Linked DNA regions of Homo sapiens: region 1 is linked to region 2. Evidence: promoter capture Hi-C in human tissues and cell types (Jung and others, 2019). All regions are on one chromosome and are shown on one strand. The core of a region is centred on a gene start or on the middle of the fragment in contact, and the rest is flanking DNA. Distances in the headings are between cores, read along the strand shown.

Region 1 (5,899 bases), core at 2,233-4,732, 62 kb before region 2:
ATCAACACCCATACTTTTTTTTGAGACGGAGTCTTACTCTGTCGCCCAGGCTGGAGTGCAGTGGTGCGATCTTGGCTCACTGCAACCTCCGCCTCCTGGGTTCAAGTGATTCTCCTGCCTCAGTCTCCCGAGTAGCTGGGAGTACAGGTGCATGCCACCACACCTGGCTAATTTTTTTATTGTATTTTTAGTAGAGGTGGGGTTTCACCGTGTTAGCCAGGATGGTCTCGATCCCCTGACCTCGTGATCTGCCCACCTCAGCCTCCCAAAGTGCTGGGATTACAGGCTTGAGCTACCGCACCTGGCCCAACACCCGTACTTTAAAGCAGAGGCTCTACTTTCAGGCCTAGATGGCAAATTAAAAATATGCTGAAACCTTCCCTTTCTGCTCTGAATGCATAAAAATTACAGGAAAAAATTAATAAACATGTAGACACACTTAAAAGCAAGAAAGAAAATATTCGTAATGTAGAAATGGAGACTTTTTCCTAAGAAAGAAGTAGCTGGGAACCTTTGGTGGTGAGTAGGAGCTGTGCATGGCAGGGAACCAGGTCCAAGTCACCTGCCTGAAGGTGAGGGGCCAGCGCCCTTCTCCTGCACACTGGTGCAACTGAAGCCTGGTGCCTGCCCAATAAAGATTATAGACAGAGCAGAGTCAGGCATTCCTGCCTGTGGCCTTGGACTTTACCTCTTGGTGTGATAAGGACTTGGCGTTAAACTGCAGAAGGACAAGAGCCAGGCAGAGGCTCAGAAATGCTTCATTAGGCAAAAAACAAACAAAAAAAACAACCTAATCTGGTACACTGTCATAGCAGAACTGAAGTTAAAGTGTCAATAAAAGCCTCTATGAGACAGGCCTACTCCTACCATTTGTGGGACCCAGGACTCTAAGGGAGGCCCACCTACCATATGTATAGATATTTTAAAATTATAAATCAAGCTAATATCTGTTAAGTAAAATACGTTGGTTTTTTTTTTTTTTTTTTTCACAAACATCTTTATAACAAGTTAAAAGGACAAGTTTAAATTGGAATTCTTAGACTCCTGGGATTCCATACTGTAATGCAGCAGCGAGGTGAGAGCCTGCTGTGGCCTGCCCTTTTCTCTCCCCACCCTGGCTCTGCTCTACATCTGAGGGGCCTGTCATGCATGCCCGTGATTACCCCAGCTCTTCTTCTCAATGTTCACACATCCCTACGAACAGCTGCCATTTGGCCCCACCTTGGGCTTCAGGGTGAAGAAACAGCAGCATATAGTATGCTCTCAGGAATCTGAATCCTGTGAAGAGGCCCATGGAACCTTTGGAAGCAGGCTCGGGGCCATTTGTAGAAGGATTTCCAGGACCACCTGGAAATAGCTCCAGGTGGGCATGAGGCCTTGGACTCCTCACCTTGTGGTGATGAGCAGGGTTCTAAGAATGAATTTAGGTAGTAGCCACTCGCAGGTCAAGGCTGCTTATTGACCAGGGTGCTTATGAGAGAAACCTGCAGCTGGTCTCCACCCAAGAACCCCAAAGCACACAAGGAACAGAGACACCAGGAGTGACCCACAACAAATAAAGGAAATGGAAGAATAAATTTCTGAGTAAACAGAAAATGGAGCAGTCTGAAAAGGACTTAGGAAGTGCTTTCTATATTCTCAAAAGGATGAGGGGGAAATAGCAACACCAAAACAAGAATGGGAGTCATGAAAAAGAACCAGTTGGAATCAAGGGGGAGGAAAACTATAACGTTTGAAATAAAGTGAACTCAATAGTAGAATAGACGGAGCTGAAGAGCAAATTAGTGAAATGACAGATTAAATGGACACATATTCCACAATGCAACATATAGTGGTAGAACAAGATAAAAGAAAAGTAAGAGCTGTGGGGGCTAGGACATGAGTATAGGGAAAATGGTAGAGAAGCAATGCAAGAATCAGTGGCTGAGAACTCCCCAGAACTAAAGAAAGACATTAGCCTTCACACTGAAAAATTCCACTGAGTACCAAGCAGAATGATTTTTTAAAAACTCACACCTCCTAATAAAAGAGAAAGAAAAAGTGAAAAAACTATTAGAAAAACTATTAGAAAGATAACTCAGATTACCTACAAAGAAAAAAAAAGATGGATATTTTGTAGTATTGCCTTTAAGGTGCTGTGGGAAAATGATTGCAAACCTAGAATTCTTTTACCAGGCAAACTATTATTGAGGAGTGAAGGCGAGATAAAGACATTTTCATACATAAGAAGAATATCTATCTCATAGGATACTGTAAGGATTAAGTAAATTTATTTATGTAATGTGTTCATACCTACAATCCAGCAATTTCACTCCTAAGTATACATCAAAAAAAAAAAAAATGAGCACATTATTCTGCTAACGGAAATGCATAGGAGTGTTCACCAAAAGACATATACAAGAAAACTCACAGCAGCATTAATTATGATAACTCCAAACTGAAAACAACCCAAATGTCCATCAACCATAGAATGGATGAATGAAATATAGTCTATTCACATAATGGAATTCTATATAATAATGAGAATGAAGTACAACTACATGTGATTACAAGGGAGATTGTAGATGTGTATATAATTGCGTATATAATGCTGAACAAAATAAGATACAGAAGAGTGCCTACACTGTGATTTCATTTACATAAAATGTAAAACCAGTCAAAACTAAATTAACGCATTAGGAATGAGAATGGTAGCTATCCTTGGGACAGGTAGTGACTGGGAAGGGAGTATCATGGGCATTCTAGTGTTCTGGTAATATTCTATTCCTTGATCTGGGTGCTGATTATATGGGATGTTTGTTTTTGTTTATGTATGCTGTACATTCATGAAAAGTTTACATAAAGATAAGGGAAAAATAACGACAGTGAAAAAGGATGACACTGTAAGCACTGCGGGGATAAAATTAAGTGCTTATGATGTGTCAAGAACTGATCCAAGTGCTTTACATTTTAAACCTATTCAGTCTTCACATGTTAAATGAATAATAAAGTTGAAACAAATAGTTGACAATACAGATCTTTTAAAAGGCAAAAGAAATGGTCATTAGGGCCATAAGTAATTTTCTAATGAAGATTAATAATACAGCCAAGCCTCTTGTAGGAAGCATCAAGAAAGAAGACAGAAGATGCAAACAGAGTATTGGGATAGAAAGGGGGACAGAGTAACTACAGAATAAACAACTTAAGAAATACGAGAGTGCTATGAATATCTTTTGCCCTATATTTAAAAACTTAGAAAGGCTGGGCGTGGTGGCTCACACCTGTAGTCCCAGCACTTTGGGAGGCTGAGGCAGGCGGATCACTTGAGGTGAGAAGTTTGAGACCAGCCTGGCCAACATGGTGAAACCCCGTCTCTACTGAAAATACAAAAATTAGCCAGACGTGGTGGTGGGTGCCTGTAATCCCAGCTACTCAGGAGGCTGAGGTTGCAGTGAGTGACCCAAGATTGCACCACTGTGCTCCAGCCTGGGTGACAGAGCGAGACTCCGTCTCAAATACATAAATCAAAAAAAAAAAAACTTAGGGGCCGGACGCGGTGGCTCACCCCTGTAATCCCAGCATTTTGGGAGGCTGAGGCAGGTGGATCACGAGGTCAAGAGATCGAGACCATCTTGGCTAACATGGTGAAACCCTGTCTCTACTAAAAATACAAAAAAAAAAAAAAATTAGCTGGGCGCGGTGGCGGGCGCCCGTAGTCCCAGCTACTCGGGAGGCTGAGGCAGGAGAATGGCGTGAACCCGGGAGGCTCTGCTTGCAGTGAGCCGAGATGATGCCACTGCACTCCAGCCTGGGCGACAGAGCAAGACTCTGTCTCAAAAAAAAAAAAAGAAAAGAAAACTTAGATAAATTATACAATTTTTAAAGAAAATGTAAATTACTAAGTTGGTTTTAAGAAGAAATCACAAACCTGAATAGAAGAGTAACTATAGAAATTGACCTGGTAAAAAGAAAAAAAAATTCTTTTAAGAGCACCAGGCCTAAACAGTTTTACAGGTAAGTTTACCACACCTTTAAGGAACAAATAAACTGCTTTATGCAACTTCTTTCAGGAAACACAGAATAAAAGTTAATTTATTCATTTTATGAGACCAGTATAGCCTTAATTTGAAAACTGAATGAGGACAGTACAGTTATTACTTAGTATTGGTAGCACATTGATTTTAGGACCCTCCAACCCTACCAAGATTTTTGGATGCGCAAGTCTCTTATGTAAAATGGCATAGCATTTGCATATAACCTACACACATCCTCCCATATATTTAATCTCTAGATTACTTATAATTCCTAATGCAATGTAAATTATACATAAATAGTTATTATACTGTATTGTTTAGGGAATAATGACAAGAAAAAAGTTTGTACATGTTCAGAACAGACACAGTTTAAAAAAAAATAATTTCAACCTGCAGTTGGTCAAATCCACAGATGTAGAACCATGGATATGAAGGGCCAACTATACTAGTAAGGAAACTTACAGGCCAATCTCACATATGAAGAAATATGCAAAAAAATTCTAAATAAGATACTAGCAATCTAATCTTGCTGTATTTTAAAAGAGTGACTTATAACCAGATGGAGTTAATCAGAGAAGTTCAAGTTTGTTGCAATACCAGAAAGCCATTCATGTAATTTACCATTTTAACCGAAAACATAGGAAAAATCCTCTGGGTGCAGGAAAAAGTATTTTATAGCATGCAGTGCTCATTTATGACATATACTCTGAATAAACTGGGAGCAGAAGGAAACTTTAGAGACTTAATAAGGAATATCTACCACAGCCTGTAATAAACATCATACTAAAGGTGAAACTTCAGAAGCTTTACCTTAAAAGAAAAAGACATTGGTAATGCTCATTATCACTACTATTTAACAACGTAGAGGAGATCTTAGCCCAGAGTTTATCAAGCCTGGCTATGATCTCTCCTTTCAGGAACATTTGGGAATATGAGTGGCATTTTTCTATGTAATAATGATAGGAAGTGCTTCTGGTATTTAGCTCGTGGGACAGGGTATAGCTGATAGGCTGGCATGGATACTAAACATCCTGTACTGCTTGGGGGAGTTTCATACAAATAATTATCTGCCCATTATGGCAATAGCACCCTGGTTGAGGAACACTGAGTCAGTGCAGCAAGATAAGAGAAAAATGGAGGCATGGCGATTAGAAAGAAGCAGCAAAACTATCCTTATTTGCACACGTGCTCTCTTAGAAAAATAAATTATCAGAACTAAAAAGAGAGTTCAACAAGAAGTCAACATACATCAGTCGCTTTCCTATATGAGAGAAATATCCAATTAGAAAAATTGTTGAGGCCAGGTGCAGTGGCTCACACCTGTAATCCCAGCACTTTGGGATGCCAAGGCAGGAGGATTGATTGAGGCCAGGAGTTTGAGACCAGCTTGGACAACATAGTAAGACCTCCATTTCTACAAAAGAAAAATTAGCCAAGTGTGGTGGTGCACACCTGTGGTCCTAGCTACTCAAGAAGCTGATGCAGGATTGCTTGAGCCCAGGGGTTCAAGGTTACAGTGTACAGTGAACCATGATCTTGCCACTGTATTCCCACCTGGGCAACAGAGTGCGACCCTGTCTCTAAAAAAAAAAAAAAAAAAGGAAGAAGATGAAAGAAAGAAAAAGAAGAGAAAAATTATTTAGCTGAGGTCAGGAGTTCAAGACCAGCCTGGCCAACATGGTGAAACCCCGTCTCTACTAAAAATACAGAGAAATTAGCTGGGCATGGTGGCATATGCCTGTAGTCCCAGCTACTCGGGAGGCTGAGGCAGGAGAATCACTTGAACCGAGGAGGAGGAGGTTTCAGTGAGCCAAGATTGCATCACTGCACTCCAGCCTAGGTGACAGAGCAAGACTCTGCCAAAAAAAAGAAAAAAATCTTGAAAA
Region 2 (6,002 bases), core at 1,824-4,323:
CATTGGAATTCTGACCACAAGTGTAATTTATGGAGCCTCAGAGTAATTATAGGATCTGGAACAGCTGGTGCTCAAATTTAGTGGTCCTCCAGTTGCTGGAATCTGCGATTTCTGGGAAGTTAAACTTTGTGTCACTGCTTCTACTTGTGATAAAATGAAACCGCTTTCAAAGAGAAGATTCCTATTCCTAGCCTTTTTGGGTAACTTCTACTACCTCCACTTAAGGATGAAAAGGGAGAAGTTTCCTCCAAGACTGCCTCATGGGGATCAGAGTGTCACCTCCATGCTCCTGCCCTAAGTGCCCCTGAGCACACCCCAGAGGGAGGCTAAGAGATTTTTGAGAAAGACCATGTGACTGGCTGATAAACACCTATTTTCCTCAGATTCCACCTGAATTTATATCATCAGTGCATCACTCTTTTATTTTGTTCTCTCTGTTCCTCTTTTTAAATATTAATATTCTCTGGAGAGGGGTAAAACATTAAATGAATTCACACTGAGGAAACTGGCCAGGTACAATGGCTTATGCCTGTAATTTCAGCAATTTGGGAGGCCAAGGCAGACAGATTGCTTGAGCCCCAGAGTTTGAGACCAGCTTGGGCAACATAATGAGACCTCGTCTCTACAAAAGAAAAACAAAAAAAAAAATTAGCCAAGCATGGTGGCACACACCTGTAGTCTCAGGTATTTGGGATGCTGAGGTGGGAGGATTGCTTTAGCCCAGGAGGTTGAGGCTGCAGTGAGCCATGACCATGCCACTGCACTCCAGCCTGGGTGACACAGCAAAACACTGTCTCAAAAAAAAAAAAGAAACTCTTCAGGCTGATCAGATCTGCTTTTCTCTGATGAGTTTCTTAGGAGCTCTACATTTCTGGTTGCTGCAATAGGCAAAGTATAGAATGGAGGTCAAGGCCTCAAATTTCTCTGACTTCCCAGCTGGGCTTGAGAGTGACTCTGGCCCTCAACTGAGGGCATTAGTAAGCTGTCCTTAAGAACGAGAGTGTATTTTCTGGCTGTATTCTTAACTCATTTCACTATAGAGCCATGTCTGATATTAACAGTGCAGTGCTAGACTAGAGAGGCCTGGCACTCCTACAGCCTTCTCCTGTCTTCTAGCTGGGACTTCACACCACAGACCCAAAGGAAAAGAGACCCAAAGATCCCTGCAGAAACCTGAGAATATTTCCTTTACCTCAGTGGTTTCATAATCTGTTCTTAGTTTCCTGTTTCTGCTGTAAATAATTCACTATATTTTTAAGAGAGAGAAGGTCAGGCCCTTGTGAGCCAGAAGGGATTTGAGAGATGATGAAAGCTACGTATGTTACCCATAACCTAAGGACTTCTGGCAAGGTGGCCTACCTGAGCTGGAGTCATGCCTTTTTTCCCTGGACTTGGAGATACCTGTCAGTGCAGAAAGGCCTACTTTTGATCTTGGAAATAAGTTTCCTGGGGTGAGTTCTTAACCCTTTCCAGCTTTCCCACCCTCTTTGGCTTTAGCCATGGCCTTCTGATCTGTGTTTCTCAGGGGACCTGCAGGCCCCAGATATAGCCCCATGCTGTCCTCCTACCCCAGAGCACACTGTTCAGGCTACTTCCACTGGTACTGAAATCCAGTATTTCACTTACTCTTTTTCTTTCCAATATCCTCATGACATTCAATATTTCACTTACTCTAGGTCCTCCCTGCCTAAGGCCCAAGTCAACTTTCTGTCCAGTGGGATTTGTAATCCAATACCTCCTAGCCCTAGCAGAATCCCATGTGGATAATCAGAAATGTGACTGGAAAAAGGACAGAGCTCTATGGCTGTGGGTCCCAGTCCCCACTGCTGGCAGTAAGTCCCCAGCAGTGAGCTGTGTAAGCACCTTACATTCTGCGCTTGGTTGAAAACAGCAAGGCAAGCATCCACTTGAGAAATGTCAACCCCTAGGAAATCCCAGCCTCAAGTCTTTCTCATCCCTTGGGAAGTGCAAATTGGATAGAGAAGAAACCAATTAAAAACAAAACAAACAAATCATACTTAGATATTCTGGCTTTTCTCACCAGGGCTGGATTAAAGCATGTACTTCAAAATAATAACAACTTAAGTCAATAAATAAATGTAAGGAAGTCCAAATGTTCACCTGAAGACAACTGTGGTCATTTTTTGGCAATCCCAGGTTCTCTTTTCTACCTGTTTGCTCAATCGTGGTCTCCCTCTCCCTCTCTTGTTGGGGCCCATGCCCCTGCTTTACTGTTGCCAGAGGCTTGTACTTGTTTGCCTTTTAGGTAGGAGCAGTTACTTCCACTCCCCTCACCTGCCATAAAGCATCTTTATAAACAAAGCAAGTAGAAGAAACACATCCTGGTATCCACCACATTCGGCTTTTGTTGATTCTGTTCACTTGGGAGCACCTGCTGCTAGGGAATAAGAAGGTTGAGGCTGAAGAGTGAGGACTCTTCAGCTCCCCTCTGGCAGGACCCGGGAGAGGAAAGAGCCCTCAGCTGGTCCATCCTCCCCACTCCTGGTCAGCCTTCTGTTCTGAGATCAAAGTGGTGGGGTCACATTCTCGAGAACTGTGCTCAGCCCCCTCATCTCACACCCTTTCCCTCTCCCTGTGTGCCTGCCCCCCTCTTACATAACCATGCTGGTGATTGGCACCGTCATAAATCAATACTTTGCTCACTTTCACATCAAGTAACACTATCCAGGGAGGTGGTTTCAACAAAGGAGGAAGTATAAGGAGATCTAGGTTCAAATTAATGTTGCCCCTAGTGGTAAAGGACAGAGACCCTCAGACTGATGAAATGCACTCAGAATTACTTAGACAAAGCGGATATTTGCCACTCTCTTCCCCTTTTCCTGTGTTTTTGTAGTGAAGAGACCTGAAAGAAAAAAGTAGGGAGAACATAATGAGAACAAATACGGTAATCTCTTCATTTGCTAGTTCAAGTGCTGGACTTGGGACTTAGGAGGGGCAATGGAGCCGCTTAGTGCCTACATCTGACTTGGACTGAAATATAGGTGAGAGACAAGATTGTCTCATATCCGGGGAAATCATAACCTATGACTAGGACGGGAAGAGGAAGCACTGCCTTTACTTCAGTGGGAATCTCGGCCTCAGCCTGCAAGCCAAGTGTTCACAGTGAGAAAAGCAAGAGAATAAGCTAATACTCCTGTCCTGAACAAGGCAGCGGCTCCTTGGTAAAGCTACTCCTTGATCGATCCTTTGCACCGGATTGTTCAAAGTGGACCCCAGGGGAGAAGTCGGAGCAAAGAACTTACCACCAAGCAGGTATGGTTTTTCTTTCTTTCTCTTTTGCTGGGGGCTGACCGCCCTTCAGCTCCAGCCAAAAGATGTGTGTGAACACAAATATACCTTCTGTTTGAGGTCAGCATCATAGTGGGTCGTGAATCATGTTGGCCTTGCTGCTGTCTCCTCATTTCTAGGGTGGAAAAAAAAAAGCATGAAAACAATCACTTAATGTTGAGCCCCATTACTGATGCTCTCTGGTCCTGCACTAGCCTCCTAGAAAAATCACCACAGGAGAAGCCTTAACTACTGCATGAGTTACCACAAGTCACACATACAACCAGCTCCCTGTTACAGGGCTGGAGTCCCTGGACCCAGGAAATACCACCTCCAAGGACTGTGGGAGCTGGGGACTATGGGAACTGGGATCAACTCAGTCCTGATTCCTTTTGGCCTGCTGGGTTAGTGCTGGCAGCCCCCTGAGGCCAAGGACAGCAGCATGACAGTCACCAGGACTCACCACTTCAAGGAGGGGTCCCTCAGAGCACCTGCCATACCCCTGCACAGTGCTGCGGCTGAGTTGGCTTCAAACCAGTGAGTTTTCTACCTCTACTATTGAAAGGGCACCTTGTCCCACAGAACCGAGTCTTGCCTGCATGTGGTCAGTGCCACCAGGTCCTTCTTCTCTCCACTTTACAGCCCAGCTCGGCTGAAGCTATGGCCAGAGGCACTGCTTTAAGGCCACTCCATATCTAGGACAGGTCAACAGACACCTCTGAGGCCACTGAGTCTTGACTCAATGAATCAGCTATAGCAGGCACTATTCCTCTCCCACATGGCCTCTAATGATATGGTCAGAGTTGAAAGGATGCTAAGGGAGGCCTCAGAGGCTTATTTAATCAGTTGGTTAATGGGAAAAAGTATTTTGTGGTACACAAATACGCTTTAAAAATATTTTAGTTATGTCATAAAAGTCTAAACCTGGGGTTGACAAACTATGGCTCACAGGCTAACTCTGGCCCACCAGCTGTTTTTATAAATGAAGCTTTATTGGAACACAGCCATGCCCATTCGTTATGTATTGTATATGGCTGTTTTTGCCCTACAACATCCTTTCAACTCTGGCCATATCATTAGAGGCCATGTGGGAGAGGAATAGTGCCTGCTATAGCTGATTCATTGAGTCAGCAAAATTGACCAATTGCGAAAGAGACAGTATGGCCCACAAAGCCTAAAATATTAACTATCTGGCCTTTAACAGAAAAAGTTTGCCAACTCCTGATCTAAAAGCTGTCAACTTGTTCCAAAATTATTATGGAATAAACCCAAGACAACCACAAAACTGACTAGACTAGGTTTTTTAGGTAATAACTTTTTAAATTATAAAGTAATACATGATTTCATGCTCCTTGAAAATGAGAAAGCAGTATAGATAAACCTAAATTCACCTTTGGCCATTCTGTCAATCCTAATCTCCAGTTTCCCCAAAAGTACTTAGTGTGATATATTTACTGCCAGACCATTGTGTCTGTGTGTGTGTTCATCTATGCATAGATGGACTATTAAACCTATCTGTTGCCATGTTGTTCTAATTCTGTTTTTCCACTCAATAGCAAGACTTGGAGACTTTCCATATCTGTATAGAGCTCTACTTCATTTATTTTAACTGCTACGTCATATTTCACAGTGTACACTTCTTTTATTTAGCCGTTTTCTTTTCGATAGATATTTAAGCTTTTCCAATTTTTCAGTCTTACCAATGAACCTCACTGTGTTTGTCTGCTTCTAGACATGTGCACGTATTGCACTAGAGGAACTACTAAGACGTTGAATTGCCACATCACAGGATATATGTGGTTCAATTTTTGGCTGCCAAACAGCCCTCCACAGTACCCGAACCGACTGTACTCCCACCAGCAGAGAAGGATAGTTACTGTTCCTCCACACTCCAAACAATGCTTGCTGTTTATTCAGTATTTTATTATTTTTTCCATTGAATTAGTGCAAATGACAACCCATTATTTCAATATTTTAATTTCCCTGATTATTAATGAAGTTGAGCATTCTTTTTATAGGACCCCTCTTGGCCATTGTATTTCTCTTCTTAAATTACCTATTCATATCCTTAGCTTATTTTATGTCGGATTTTTTTTCTTCTTTGTAGGAGTTTTTTATTTATTCTCAATGCAAATTATTTGATATGTGTGTAATATTCTCTCTAAGCTTTGTTTAAATCATACTTTTTAGCCAACAGAAATTTTTACTATTATTGTTGTTGTTATTTTGATGTAGTTGAATCTGTTAGTTTCCCTCTTTCTGGATTTTACTCTTTGAGGCTGATTTTTAAAAGATTTCTCAACTTCCAAAATTATGAAGCTACTTTGGTGCACCTTCCTGTAATACTTTTATTTAAAAAGTTAGTCTTTATTCACCTGGCACTTATTGCAATACATTATTTCAATACTATTTATTGAAAAGTCCATCTTTTTCCTATTTGTTTGAAATATCACCTCTATCATGTACTAAATTCCCACTTACACATGTCCATTTCTGTGTCCTTTTGTATTTATTTCCTATTCCTGAGCCAATTTCCACTATAATGTTTACCTTTTCTACTTGATTTTTTCCCCCAATAAATAGAAAATCTATTTTGTGTTTTGATATTTTGCCTAGTTACCTTATGGAATTCTCTTAATAGTTATAAAAGCTTATCAGTTGATTCCTTTGGAATTTCTAGTTAGACAAACATATCATCTATATATAGTAAGAGT

Evidence for each region. Contacts are between HindIII fragments. The study calls those that stand out against the background at their distance.
Region 1: a contact is called between a fragment that was not itself captured here and the fragment with the promoter of NR1I2 in region 2, in 2 of the 25 tissues and cell types used here (bladder and liver).

The regions. Positions count from the first base shown.
Region 1 is chr3:119,716,583-119,722,481 of GRCh38, forward strand. The region is part of intron 6 of CFAP91 (cilia and flagella associated protein 91); the gene reads left to right. Among named protein-coding and RNA genes, the nearest start is that of CFAP91, 17 kb to the left of the region's middle. The HindIII fragment of the contact is 8,574 bases long and covers 1-5,899 here.
Region 2 is chr3:119,779,028-119,785,029 of GRCh38, forward strand. NR1I2 (nuclear receptor subfamily 1 group I member 2) reads left to right here and starts at 3,074. Exons shown (of 9, transcript NM_003889.4): 1 at 3,074-3,273. The HindIII fragment of the contact is 9,150 bases long and covers 1-4,620 here.